Linked DNA regions of Homo sapiens: region 2 is linked to region 1. The links are contacts of gene promoters, found by promoter capture Hi-C in human tissues and cell types (Jung and others, 2019). All regions are on one chromosome and are shown on one strand. Each heading gives the region's core, a stretch centred on a gene start or on the middle of the fragment in contact. The rest is flanking DNA. Distances are from core to core; before and after follow the strand shown. Region 1 holds the start of NSUN7 (NOP2/Sun RNA methyltransferase family member 7). Region 2 has its middle 59 kb from the start of NSUN7.

Region 1 (7,138 bases), core at 2,897-5,396:
TAAGAAAGTGAATCTGATTTAAAGTAAAATATTGAGTAAATACTATACATGGTTGTATATGTATATATGGCAAAAAAAAAAAAAAAATCATGAAGGCAGTGCTTGAGTGACTAACTCCAGGAAACACTGTGTTGCTAGAATCTGTTACAAATGGTTGTCTACTGTAATCAAGACCTGGAATGACAACTCTCCTGAATCTTTTTTTTTTTTTTTTTTGAGATGGAGTTTCGCTCTTGTTGCCCAGGCTGGAGTGCAATGGCACGATCTTGGCTCACCGCAACCTCCGCCTCCCAGGTTCAAGCAATTCTCCTGCTTCAGCCTCCCGAGTAGCTGGGATTACAGGCATGCACCACCATGCCCAGCTAATTTTGTATTTTTAGTAGAGACGGGGTTTCTCCATGTTGGTCAGGATGGGCTCAAACTCCCAACCTCAGGTGATCCGCCCGCTTCAGTCTCCCAAAGTGCTGGGATTACAGGCATGAGCCACCGCGCCCGGCCCTGAATCTTCTTTCCCCTTGTATCCTAGGTCACTCAAACTCCTCCTTATTTGCTCTTGTCATTTTTGGCTTCTAAATATCAAGAGTGTTCTTTCTAACGGTGCTGTCTCTGAACTGCTATGGTGTGGAGTTCCATTCTTCTCCACTTGCACCACCCTTCAGGAATCAGCTTCGTTAGAATCTTCTGCATCCAAATTAAGGGAGAATTTTTTTTCTCCTCTGCAAGTGGTTATGACTCTTTGGCTAATCTTTTGGCTAAGTATTAAGAGGACACTTGAGTAGGCTACTCTCTAGCATATGTAAAGTGTTCCTGCATACCAACTTTCACCCAGTATCACAGAACGAAGTTCATCTACCTCAGGTGATGCTTTCTTGAGCATCTATTCCCTTTCATCCTCTGGGGATGTAATAACTCAGCATCTGACCGTCAGCCCCCAAATGTACCTTACCCACAAGGCCCAAATGATCCTCAAATGGCAATCCTGATGGCCTGCCCTAGTCCCCAGAGTTTCAATTGGATATAGCTTAGGTCTACAATAAAACACTTTATAAAACAAAAATAATTAAAGGCTGAGCATGGTGGCTCATGCCTATAATCCCAACACTTTGGGAGGCCAAGGTGGGAGGATTCCTTAAGCTCGGGGGACACCAGCCTGGGTAACATGGTGAGACTCCACCTCTACAAAAGTAAAAAACAATTAGCTGGGTGTGGTGGCATGCCTGTTGTCCCAGGTACTCAGGAGGCTGAGGCAGGAGGATTGCTTGAGCTACCAGGAGTTCAAGGCTGCAATGAGTTATGATCACACCACTGCACTCCAGCCTAGGTGACAGAGGAATCTGCAAAAGGTGTTGCAATGAAAATTTACCATACTGTTTCTAAGAAGCAATAACTGGAAGTTGAGTCCTGGTGTTTAAGAACACAAGTTAAGATTCTTTATGTTTCTTATGCTTTTTATATTTCTGTAACAGGCTTCATTGGAACTGGGCACCGTTTTATATTGTCTAGATCAAATTGATGCAAGTGAGCAGATGTATTTTGAATATTCACATGCCTAACATATACTAGTACTCTGAGTCAAATGCAAGAATGTTAATTTACAAATATCTTAAATATTCTACCCCCTGGGGAAAGAAAAATCATTAATTTCCTTTGGCAGAAAGCCTCAGGTACATTTTGATTTTCTCCTCATGTCTGATTTAATGCTCTGGTCATATTACAGAGTGTAACTTAAACAAAAACTACATTTTTTTTTTTTACTATCCTGCTTTCACAACAATTGAACTCATATGCCTGTCTCTATGGTTACTTTTTTACAGTGTTCACTGAAATTTAATATGCTCTCCTCTGACCCTCCCCTCAAATACATTAAGTCCACAATGAGGCTATAAACCAGGAGTGAGAAGTAAGGAGGCAGGATTATATACATGATTAAAGTAAATAGTAACCATGAATTTGCTAACCCCACAACTCTTTGCCTAAGCTCTACCTTGGGGATAGAGACTCGTTAAACCTTGTTTTCAATATAGTAAACTGTTACTTACATTGAACTATTATTAAAGAAAATAAACTCTTCAAATTATATTTTGAATGACAATATTTCAAAGTTTATAGCTAGCTATTGCCTCACATCACTGTGTACTGGGTGATGCATGATAAAATATATCATGACCTCTAAGACACCTTCCATATTTGTAATCTTCTGTGAATGTCTGTATGTGAAAGAGAGTGATATTTTGCTAGCATCTGGGAATAAAAAAGATATATAATAAAAATGAAAAGATAAAGATAAAACAAGACTATTTTAGAGTGTGTGTGTTGTGTGGATAGAAAGATGGCAGAAGGGGGGTAATGCAGGTATGTACACGAATCTTTATAACAAAAATGAAAAGGTGACAAAATACAAATATATCCATCTTTAATTTCTTGAGGGCAAGGTCTTTGATCATTTCTTTTTTTTTTGAGACGGAGTCTGGCTCTGTCACCCAGGCTGCAGTGCAGTGGCCCAATTTCGGCTCACTGCAACCTCCGCCTCTCGGGTTCATGCCATTCTCTGGCCTCAGCCTCCTGAGTAGCTGGGACTACAGGCGCCCGCCACCACGCCCGGCTAATTTTTTTGTATTTTTAGTAGAGACGGGGTTTCACCGTGTTAGCCAGGATGGTCTCGATCTCCTGACCTCGTGATCCGCCCGCCTCGACCTCCCAAAGTGCTGGGGTTACAGGCGTGAGCCACCGCGCCCGGTCAGGTGTCTGATCATTTCTATACATTCATTATTTTACTTGTAGGGCTGAACACAATGCCAGGGACACAGCAAGAATTTAATATATACTTGTTAAACGAACGAATGAATGCATGTATACATAAAATGTTACGGAATGTTTAACGTATTCCGGGGATAATGAAAGTGGGTGGATTTCTGAGAGAAGGGGTCAGGGTTAGAGTTCTGTACTGCTAATTTTTTCCCCATTATCCATTCTCTCCTTCTTCTACAGTAATAGTTCCCTTATTTTTAGCTGGACACATTTACCAGCCTCTTGGTTGCTGGGTATATGACTGAGTTCTGACCAATAAAATGTGAGCCAAAGTGATATGTGCACCTTTCAGGTCATTGAAAAATATGGGCTGCCCTCTCTTTCCCCTTCATCCTACTAACCACTGGCTGGAAATGGAAATGGCCTTAGCCTAAAGAAGGAAGGGCAAATCCCTAAGGAGGAAAGGCAGAGGTGGAATTAGGACCAGTTGTCTTTCAACTATACCAGAGTTTTTCAAACTGTGGTCTTTGGGCTGATTGCATCAGAATCGCCAGTTACCTGATAAAAATGCAAATTACTGGGTCTTAGCAACTCAAATCTCTAGGATGGGTTCCAAGGATTTTTTTTTAGCTGGAGGCGGTGGTTCACGCCTGAAATCCCAGCACTTTGGGAGGCCGAGGAGGGAGGACTCCTTGAGCCCAGGAATTCGAGACCACCCTGGGCAACATAATGGGAACCCTGTCTCTGTTATTAAAAAAAATTATTACAGACGGCGCAGTGGCTCACGCATGTAATCCCAGCACGTTGGGAGGCCAAGGCCGGCAGATCACTTGACGTCAGGAGTTCGAGACTAACTTGATCAACACGGTGAAACCCTGTCTCTACTAAAAATACAAAAATTAGCAGGGTGTGGTGGCGGGCGCCTGTAGTCCCAGCTACTCGGGAGGCTGAGGCATGAGAATCACGTGAACCCGGGAGGAGGAGGCTGCAGTGAACCGAGATTGCGCCACTGCACTCCAGCCTGGGCGACAGAGCGAGACCATGTCTCAAAAAAAAAATTATTACTATATTTTAAAAATATTTTAAAGAATGTGTAGTTTTAACAGGGACTTCAGGAACTTGTGAGTTAAAACCACGGAACTACGTCAGACTACCTCAAAAATATCCCCAAATGTTTATAAACAAAGCCAAGGGCACGCACTCAGGCCCGGTGAGGTCCAGGAACTGTGCAAGAGGCCTCTGGCTCGGAGGGGCTGAAACAGGTGTCTCCGCGCGCTGGGGGAAGAGCGACTCTCCCGGCAACAGGTAGCACCCGCCAAATCCCGCGGGAACGGCCCTCGCGCCGCGCCCCCTGCCCCACCTCCGCTCGCGGTTGCCATGAAGACCCGGTCCGGGAGCAGTCGACTGCCGGAGACTCGGGAGGCTGAGCTTTCCTCGGCCTGAGCCAGCCAGACCCCGGGCACCGCGCTCACCCCTCTTCGCCGCCACGTCCGCGAAGGCCTCACGCGCGAGGCCAGGCGAGGCCCCGAGGCGCCCACCACTTCACGACACCGGAGCGAACCGGGCGCCAGAGGCTGCGACCCCCCTGCCCCGAATCCTGCCGGTGGGAGTGGCTGCATTTGAACCAAACGGCCTTCGCGGGCAGCAGCCGTCGCCCCGCAGTCCCGGGGCTCCCAAGGGCCTGTGACCGACGCCGCCCTCCGCGTCTTCGTCCCCGAAGCCCCGGGAACCATCCGCCCTCGGGGTAAGGGAGGAGTCGGGGGAGCCGGTGACTGGGCTGTGGGGACGCGGACGGGGCTCCGGGGGCAGCTCTGCCCCCAGACTGGCTTGAGGGAAGCCGTCGGTCTCCTTGGGGCTCTTCTCCCTCCGCCGCTGCACCCCTCCTCGCTTTTTTTTTTTTTTTTGAGCGTCCCAGGCTCGAAGTCTGGGACACTCAGATGGGACGGGAAATGCTCCCTCTTAGTCTTTAAGGCCACAACGAAGGGGGCCACCCACAGGGGTGCTGCAGAAAGAGTGATTTACTGCAATCACCTTCTCTCTTCACAGAGACCATGCTGCAGATGCGAGGAAAGCCGTTTCCTGGAACATCGGAATTCTAACCCCAGGGTGAAGGACTCACGACAGGCGAGGGGCAGACATGCTGAATTCCACGGGCGAACTGGAGTTTTCGAACGAAGAAGATCCCGAGATCATCTCCCAACTCACTTCCCTGCCTCTGTCCGGTGGGAAAAGCTCAGCTGGTGTGCCCGAAAAAACGGGCTATCCGGACTCCGTTTATGTCATGGCAGCCAACATTTTTCAGGGTATTCGAATCGAAAAGTCGGCACAGAAAGTCTTAATCAAGTATGGGAATGAACCCCTGCGGTCCTTGTCCGAGTCTGAGGATCAGTCCTTTCAGCGTTTGTCTTATGAGCTGGCTTTCAGTGCCCTGAAATGTGAGTTGTGCCAGTCTGGAAGATCAACACTAAAAGAAAATAATAGCGAGAGAATTTGGGGAATGCAGCCCTCCTCCTCCCTTCCCCTCATTCACACCAGGTTTTGGTTTTAGGCATGTGCATATCTTTGGTTAATTGCAAGTGTCAAGGAATTAGGGTTCCCATGAAACTAGCTCTTCCAGCCCAGGATTGCAGATTTCCCCGTGCACTGTGTTTGTCCTTAGATCGGTGTAGTGCGCGGTCATTACATTCAACAAGGAAACAATTTATTCCAATGATCATTTCCCTCTCCCTGTATTTTTTTTTCCCTCGTAGACTTAGGGGTCTCGCTTTATTGTCTGGGCTGGTCTCAAACTCTGGACCTCAAGGAATCCTCCCTCTTCAGCTTCCCAAAGTGCTGGGATTACAGGCAGTGAGCCACCACGCCTGGCCTCCCTGTGTATTTCTTTCCATTCCCTGTGTTTACCTTTTTTGGTATTTTAGTTTATGAGCTTTCACAAATATAAAACCAGTGAGGGAGGATGGGGAGAGGAACAGAGACGGAATAAAAAGAAAAGGTGCAAAATTTAAAAAATGAATATCAAAATTACACCAACCCCAATTAAGACTATCCCATTCATAGCCACTAGCTTTAATGGGAGGAGCCAAACTTTAGTAGAACTTCCCTTTCTAATTTGCTTTCAGGGTTTGAGACTCAAGGATGGTTAGTTATCAATCTGAGGCCAAGGGTGGTTGCTCAGGCCTGTAATCCCAGCACTTTTCGAAGCCAAGGTGGGAGGATTGATTGAGCTCAGGCGTTAAAGACCAGCCTGGGCATATAGTGAGATCTCCTCTCTACAAAAAAAAATTTAAAAATTAGCCCAGTATGGTGGCACATGTCTTTAGTCCCAGATACTTGGGAGATTGAGGCGGGAGGATCGCTTGAGCCTGGGAGGCAGAGGTTGCAGTGAGCCAAGATGGTGTCATTGCACTCTAACCTGGTGACAGAGCAAGACCCTGTGGAATTGACACTAGGAAATGACCAAATATTGCTACTATGAGGAGAGCAGTCAAAAGGCTTGAAGTTGTTTGTTTTCGTACTAGCTGTGACTAAAAACTTTATGTTGGTTTGTAAACTGATTGAATGTAGTTCCAAAAAGAAGTTCCAGAAATGTTTAGAATATTAGCAGCATGGCCAAAATGATGAGCAGAAGCCTTCCTAAAGAGACACCTCAAAAAGGGCAACACTCTTTTGCATGATTTTCTTAGTACTTAATGAGCCTTGTACATCCTTGCTCGTAGGAGGCAGTTAATTACTCAGTTCAGCCAGATGCGGTGGCTTACACTTGTAATCCCAGTACTTTTGGAGGTGGAGGTGGGACGATTGCTTGACTTCAGGAGTTCAAGACAAACCTGGACAATATAGCAAGACCCCATCTCTATTTTTAGTTTTATTTTCTATTTTTTTGAGATGGAGTCTCACTCTGTCGCCCAGGCTGAAGTGCAGTGGCACAATCTTGGCTCACTGCAAGCTCCGCCTCCTGGGTTCACGCCATTCTCCTGCCTCAGCCTCCTGAGTAGCTGGGACTACAGGCGCACGCCACCATGCCTGGCTAATTTTTTGTATTTTTAGTAGAGACGGGGTTTCACGGTGTTAGCCAGGATGGTCTCCATCTCCTGACTTTGTGATCCACCCACCTCAGCCTCCCAAAGTGCTGGGATTACAGGCGTGAGCCACTGCACCTGGCCCCCCATCTCTATTTTTTAAAATTAAAAAAAAATGCTCAGTTGAATTAAAATGTCTCACTGATTATTTAGACAGGAATATATATTTTTGGTTGTCTGCAGAGAGTCTCTTTGTTTTTTGTTTCTTTGTTTTCTCCTCAGTAATTTTTCTTTTCCTTTTAAGTCCGTCTTAACCATTCTTCCTCCAGTTTAATCTCTGAGATTTTATTTCATCCATCTTCTTCCCCTCT
Region 2 (7,138 bases), core at 1,622-4,121, 60 kb before region 1:
CACTCCAGCCTGGGCAACAAGAGGAAAACTCCGTCTCAAAAAAAAAAAAAAAAAAAAAAAAAAAAAAAAAAAGAATATTACCCAACTCTTTGGTTATGATAAAAAGCACAGAAAGGAACAGACTAAAGGGGAAAGTAAGACCAGATTTATTAAAGGGTAGTGAATTATATTATTAAAACCAGTGACTCCTCCCTCCTTCCTTCCAAACTAACCCCAAACTCAGCTTATCTAAGTAAACCAAAGGAAATTTAATCTTAGCCTCTACTATAGATTCAGTACATTCTGGCTGACATTTTAAACCCTGTTAGAAATCTGGTTGGTGTCCAAGCACATGCAATAGTAGAATGGAGCAATCATGTAGATAACTATCTCATTTTTCTTTCACTCTGAAACATTGACAATGATTCTTTGTAAAATGTCTCAGGACATTGAAGGAAGCTATCGACAAACATTTTGCAGAAATCTGTCAAGAGTTGATTACTGCAATTTATATAATGTGGAAATTTTATTTCCCAGGCTTCATGTATTGCATGATTAAAACATGCGTGAAAGGAAATGGGTCTCTAGGCTGCCAAACGTATGAGCAACCAGGAGTCAAGGTGAAGGTTTAAAGGGTGGTGTTTTCAGCTCCTGAGAGGACAAAATGATGACCTCAAATGACACAGGCAGAACTACCAGATACACACTGGTCCCCTCCCAATGTGGGCAAACATTAACTGGCAAAACAGGAGAAATCCATACCTCCCTTCATTTCTCAGAAATCCTTGCAGCCATGCCAGTTTAGGTGGGGAGTACCATGTTGGAGTTCCATGCTATGTAGGTAGGGATAACACAAACATCTGAAATTCACAGACAAATTCAAGCTCTTATTTTAGCAATTTACTTTCAACTGAATTAGTTTCATCAACTCTGCTAACCAAAAGGGATACTGTAACCAAGGCCTATGTTGTAGGCAGGAGTCCACCCTCTTTTCCATTCACATCCTGCAGAAGGAACTACTGAGTCACAAAGTACGTGAATAAAGTTGCCAAGGCCATGGCTCAGTTCTAAGCTGGATGGAAACGCTTTGGAAACTGAACATTGGAGTGCAGTCAGAAGACTTCATTACAGTGTCACACAGCACACCAGGTTTACCTGACTCATTCTCAGAATCAACCACCCAAGGCAATTTTAGATTTTTTCTTTGATAAGTCTCAAGTCTTTTTAATGTGGGGAAGAGACATATAGATAATTTAATTCTACTCACTGTAGGGTTTTTATTTGAGATTTTACCTATGCCCACCTACTCTTCCCCGTATAAACAGTAAACGATTCTCACCATTTCTCTGGATATACACAGTAAAGTCATGCTTGCAAATGACAAATGAACACTAGGGTACTGTCTTGCTCATACTCTTCAACAAGCATGATGACATTTTCTTTCATAACATTGTACTCTAACATGACAATCTTTTTTTTTAATTTCTGAATTTTTTTTTTTTTTTGAGGCAGGGTCTCGCTCTGTCACCCAGGCCGTTCAAGTGCCACAATCTCTGCTCACTGCAATCTCTGCCTCCCAGGCTCAAGCCATACTCCCACCTCAGCCTCCCAAATAGCTGGAACCACAGGTGTATGCCACCATGCATGGCTAATTTTTGTATTTTTTGTAAAGATGGGGTTTTGCCATGTTGCTCAGGCTAGTATCAAACTCCTGAGCTCAAGCGATCTGCCTGCCTCGGACTCCCAAAGTGCTGGGACTACAGGCGTGAGCTACTGCGCTCAGCCTAAAATGTCAATCTTAATTAAATTATTTGCTTAGGTTAAGATTATCTGGAATATATATATATATATATATATATATATATTTTTTTTTTTTTTTTTGAGACGGAGTTTTGCTCTGGTTGCCCAGGCTGGAGTGCAATGGCACGATCTCGGCTCACCACAACCTCTGACTCCCGGGTTCAAGTGATTCTCCTGCCTCAGCCTCCCAAGTAGTTGGGATTACAGGCATGCACCACCATGCTCAGCTAATTTTGTATTTTTAGTGGAGATGGGGTTTCTCCATGTTGGTCAGGCTGGTCTCGAACTCCCGACCTCATGTGATCCACCCGCCTCAGCCTCCCAAAGTGCTGAGATTACAGGTGTGAGCCACCGCGCTCAGCTATGTGCAATATATTTTTAAAGCATTTCTGGATGAACACTTATTTCAAATGAGCGCGCACACACACATACACATACACACAAAATCAAAGCAATCTTTTTTCTTTTTAAAGAAAATTCTTTAAAAAGGTGGCCCACAACTGTAATCCCAACACTTTGGGAGGGTGAGGCAGTGGATCACTTGAGGTCAGGCATTTGAGACTATCCTGGGCAACATGGCAAAACCCACTCTTTGCAAAAACAAACAAACAAAAAAAAAGTCAATTCTTTTCAGAGCCATAATTTCGAATAGTCACCATGTCTGCATGAATCCATTTTTTTGTTATTAACTTAATATAAATGACTAAAGGTCATTTTCCATAGAAATGCAAAGTCCAGCTGGCCTGGTGGCTCACACCTGCAGTCTCCACTAGTAGGGAGGCTGAGGTGGCAGGATTGCTTGAGCTCAGGAGGTCAAGGCTGCAGTGATCATGCCACTGCACTCTAACCTGGATGACAGAGTGAGACCTCAACTCTGAAAAAAGAAAAAAAAGAAATACGAAATTTAAAAATGTATAGTGATTCCTTTCCTCACCTCTGTTGAACTTTCATTACTGGGTGAAGAGAGATCATGCTTTCATTTCATCAGGCATTTGAGAGATGCCACCACTATGGTTCTATTCATAAAAATCTCCATGTAGGAATAGTATTGTATAGTTCACAAAGTATGCAGCTATTATCATCTTATGATCCCTACAACATCCGTGAAAGGCCAGCAGATCAGGAATTCTAATCTCTACTTACAGATGGGAAACTGAAGACGGAAGAGATTTGCCCAAGGCTGTGGCACACACCAACTCACAAACTGGGATTCAAATCCAGACCTTCTGGTGCCTAATCCACTCTCTTTTCTGTATATTTTGCTTCCCCCTCCCCAGCACTTTCTCCCTGCAAAAAGAAGATATTGATGTTTTGAGACAGACTAAAAATCTCATTTGCCTGCTTCCCCCTCTAAAAAAAAACACAGTAAGTAACTTACCAGGTGTGTTCAATGTAGTTTGCACCTCTGTGCTACAACCAATATAGGGGCATTTATCAACAGGACTGGCATTGTATTTATCAACAGGACTGGCATTGTATGGTGGGGATGAAGTCTATGCAGCCTTTGGGGAGACCTGGCAGCAGCTTCTCTGTTGTGTCCTTGGAGGAGTTCCAGTGCACTGCAATTGGACAACAGCAACCAAATGTTGCTCCCAATCCAGCCCCAGTGGCTCCCAGCTGCCCTGGCCTGCTTTCTCATCTGGTAAAACACAGGAGTTGGGGAGAAGGTAGCTGGCACTGGAAAAGTTGCTACTGGATGAAGGGTTGGCATAGTTCCTTATAGACACTTAAGATGGGGAAAGAAGTAGAAGATGGGAGAGATTGGCCACAATTTTTGGAACTTGCCCCGAAGGAAGGGGCCAGGAAGCTTTTGCACAAGGTAGCAGAACATGAAGTGCTGGTTCTGGTTCTCCAACTACAGCTGGTGAGCTGGGGAAGGAGTTTAAGAGGTCATCAAGTCCACCTTTCATTCATCCATTCATTCATTCATCTGTTCATTCCTTCAAATGATTATTGAACACCTAGAGGTGCTTAGGATACGGTAGGGAACAAATCAAAGTCCCTGCCCCCGAGGAGTTTACATTCTAGTGGGGAGAGACAAACTTTTTTTTTTTTTTTTTTTTGAGACGGAGTCTCGCTCTGTCGCCCAGGCTGGAGTGCAGTGGCGGGATCTCGGCTCACTGCAAGCTCCGCCTCCCGGGTTCACGCCATTCTCCTGCCTCAGCCTCCCGATTAGCTGGGACTACAGGCGCCCGCCACTACGCCCAGCTAATTTTTTGTATTTTTAGTAGAGACGGGGTTTCACCGTTTTAGCCGGGATGGTCTCGATCAGGGAGAGACAAACTTTAAGCAAGCAAAAAAATACAGGCATTCTTGGAGATTTTGTGGGTTTGGTTCCAGACCACCACAATAAAGTTGATATTGCAATAAAGTGAGCCACATCAATTTTTTGGCTTCCCAGTGCGTATAGAAGTTATTTTGTCCAGATCTATCAGAGGAATCACTATTGATGCAAGCTTCAGCCCCTTATGAGATCATTTCTTTCTTTCGTTTGTTTTTTTTTTTTTTTAGTCAGGGCCTTGCTCTGTCATGCAGGCTGGAGTGCAGTGGCAATCACAGCTCTCTGCAGCCTCAAACTCCTGGGCTCAAGTGATCCTCCCACCTCAGCCTCCCGAGTAGCTGGGACTGCAGGCACTTGCCACCATGCCTAACTAATTTTTTTTTTTAATTGTAGAGACAAGGTTTCACCATGTTGCTCAAGGCTGGTCTGGAATTCATGGGCACAAGTGATCCACCTGCCTCGTCCTGCCAAAGTGCTGGGATTACAGGCATGAGGCACTGCATCCTGCTGAGATCTATCTCTTAAATAATGGGACTTGAAAGTCGAAATTACTCTTGATCCATAGGCTGCAGAATGAAAGTTGTGTAAGCAGGCATGAAAACATTAATCTCCTTGTACATCTCCATGAGAGATCTCGGGTGAATAAGCACATTGTCATTGAGCACTAATATTTCTAAAGGAATCTTTTGTTCTGAGCAGCAGGTCTCAATGGTGGGCTTAAAATATTCAGTAAACTATGCTGTAAACAGGTGTTCTGTCATCCAGGCTTTGTTATTCCATTTATAAAGCATAGGATGAGGAGATTTAGCATAATTCTTAAGGGCCCTACGATTTTCAGAATGGTAAATAAGCATTGACTTCAACTTCAAGTCACCAGCTGCATTAGCCCCTAGCAAGTCAGCTTGTCCTTTTAAGCTTTGAAGCCAGATATTGACTTCTCCTCTCTAGCTATGAAAGTCCTAGATGGAATCTTCTTCCAATACAATGTTGTTTTGTCTATACTGAAAATCTGTTGTTGAGTGTAACCACCTTCATTGATAATCTTTGCTAGATCTTTTGGATAACTTGCTACAGCTTCTACATCAGCACTTGCTGCTTCATCTTGCACTCTTATGATACAGAAATGGCTTCTTTCCTTCAATCTCATGAACCAACATCTGTTAGTGTCAAACTTTTCCTCTGCAGCTTCCTCTTCTCTCTTAGCCTTCATAGAATTGAAGAGAGTTAGGGCCTTGCTCTGGATTAGGCTTTGACTTCAGGAATAGTGTGGCTGGTTTGAGCATCTATCCAGATTACTCAAACTTTCTCCATATCAGAAATAAAGTTGTTTTGCTTTTGTATCATTTGTGTGTTCACTGGAGTAGCACTTTTAATTTCCTCCAATAACTTTTTCTTTGCATTCACAATTTGGCTGCAAGAAGCCTAACTTTCAACCTAACTTGGCTTTAGACATGCCTTCCTCACTAAGCTTAATGATTTATAGGTTTGTTTGTTTTTTGTTTGTTTGTTTTTTTAAGATGGAGTCTACTGTGGCTCAAGCTGGAGTGCAGCGGTGCGATTTCGGCTCACTGCAACCTCTGCCTCCTTGGTTCAAGCTGTTCTCCTGCCTCAGCCTCCTGAGTAGCTGGGATTACAAGCATGCACCACCATGCCAGGCTAATGTTTGTATTCTTAGTAGAGACGGGGTTTCACCATGTTGGTCAGGCTGGTCTTGAACTCCTGACCTCAAGAGATCTGCCCACCTCGGCCTCCCAAAGTGCTGAGATTACAGGCGTGAGCCACCATGCCCAGCCCACTTCTAGCTCTTGATTTAAAGTAAGAGACATGCAACTCTTCCTTTCACTTGAACACTTAGAAGCTGTTGTAGAGTTATTAATTGGCCTTATTTCAGTATTGTTGTTTCTTAGGGAATCGGGAGGCCTGAGGAGAGAGATGGACAGCTGTTCAGTGGAGCAGTCAGACACGTACAATATTTACTGATTGAGTTCTCAATTTAATATGGGTAGTTCATGGTGTCCAAAACAATTACAATAGTAACATCCAAGATCACTGATCACAGATCACCATAACAGATATAATAATAACAACAATTAAAATATTGCAAGAATTACCAAAATGTGACACAGAGACCACGAAGTAAGCACATGCTGTTGGAAAAATGGCACCAATAGACTTGCTTGACACAGAGTTGCCACAAAACTTCACTTTGTGAAAAGTGCAATATCTGCAAAGCACACTACGGCGAGGTATGCCTGTAGCATGTCAGCTGGTGATAAGTGCTGTGGAGAACAGGAAAGTCGGGTGAGAGGAAAAGGGGCTGTTTGGGGCTAGAGGTGATCTTATATATGCCAGTTAGGCTGATAACGTGCTGACTACTGACACTGACATCTGAATGGAGACTTGAAGGAAATGAGGGAAGGAGCCATGAAAATATCTGATGGGAAGAGAATTCTAAGGAGAGGGAACATCAAGTGAAAAGACTCCACTGCAGGGAGTATTTGGCATGTTAAAGGAATAGCTAGGAGGCCAGTAGGGTTGGAGCAGCAGGAGGTGGGAAATTGTAGATGAGGTCAGAGAGATTGTGGGTCCTGGACCTGCAGGACAGCATTAGGCTCAGGGGAGACAGAGGCCCACTGGAGGGCATGGAGCAAGGCAATGATAGAATCTGACTTTTAAAGAATCCTCCCAGCTGCTGTTGTGGAAAACATCTTGGGGCTATGCCATGGAACATGATGGAAATCTACTTCATTCTTGGAAGGTCTTGTATATGACTCAGTTGCCCTCATTTTTTAGGTGGGTTTTTATGCTTCTCCCCAGACAGATTTCCATCTATTTGTTTCCTTTCCAATCATCAGATTCTTTAAAATGCAAAATCTGATTTTGTCATCCTCCCTTTGCAACCCCTAACTTCTTTAAAAACAAAAAAAAACAAAAAACAGGTTCTCACTCTGTTGCCCATGGTGGAGTACAATGGCACCATCTCAGCTCACTGCAACCGCCACCTCCTGGGTTCAAGCAATTCTCCTGCCTCAGCCTCTCGAGTAGATGGGACTACAGGCAAATGCCACCACACTTGGC

The links. Contacts are between HindIII fragments. The study calls those that stand out against the background at their distance.
Region 2: a fragment that was not itself captured here is called in contact with the fragment with the promoter of NSUN7 in region 1 in 1 of the 25 tissues and cell types used here (mesenchymal stem cells).

What each region holds. Positions count from the first base shown.
Region 1 is chr4:40,745,809-40,752,946 of GRCh38, forward strand. It overlaps NSUN7 (NOP2/Sun RNA methyltransferase family member 7), which reads left to right and starts at 4,147. Exons shown (of 12, transcript NM_024677.6): 1 at 4,147-4,492; 2 at 4,795-5,183. The coding sequence starts at 4,886. The HindIII fragment of the contact is 15,367 bases long and covers 1-7,138 here.
Region 2 is chr4:40,687,564-40,694,701 of GRCh38, forward strand. No RefSeq gene overlaps it. Among named protein-coding and RNA genes, the nearest start is that of NSUN7, 59 kb to the right of the region's middle. The HindIII fragment of the contact is 3,467 bases long and covers 1,139-4,605 here.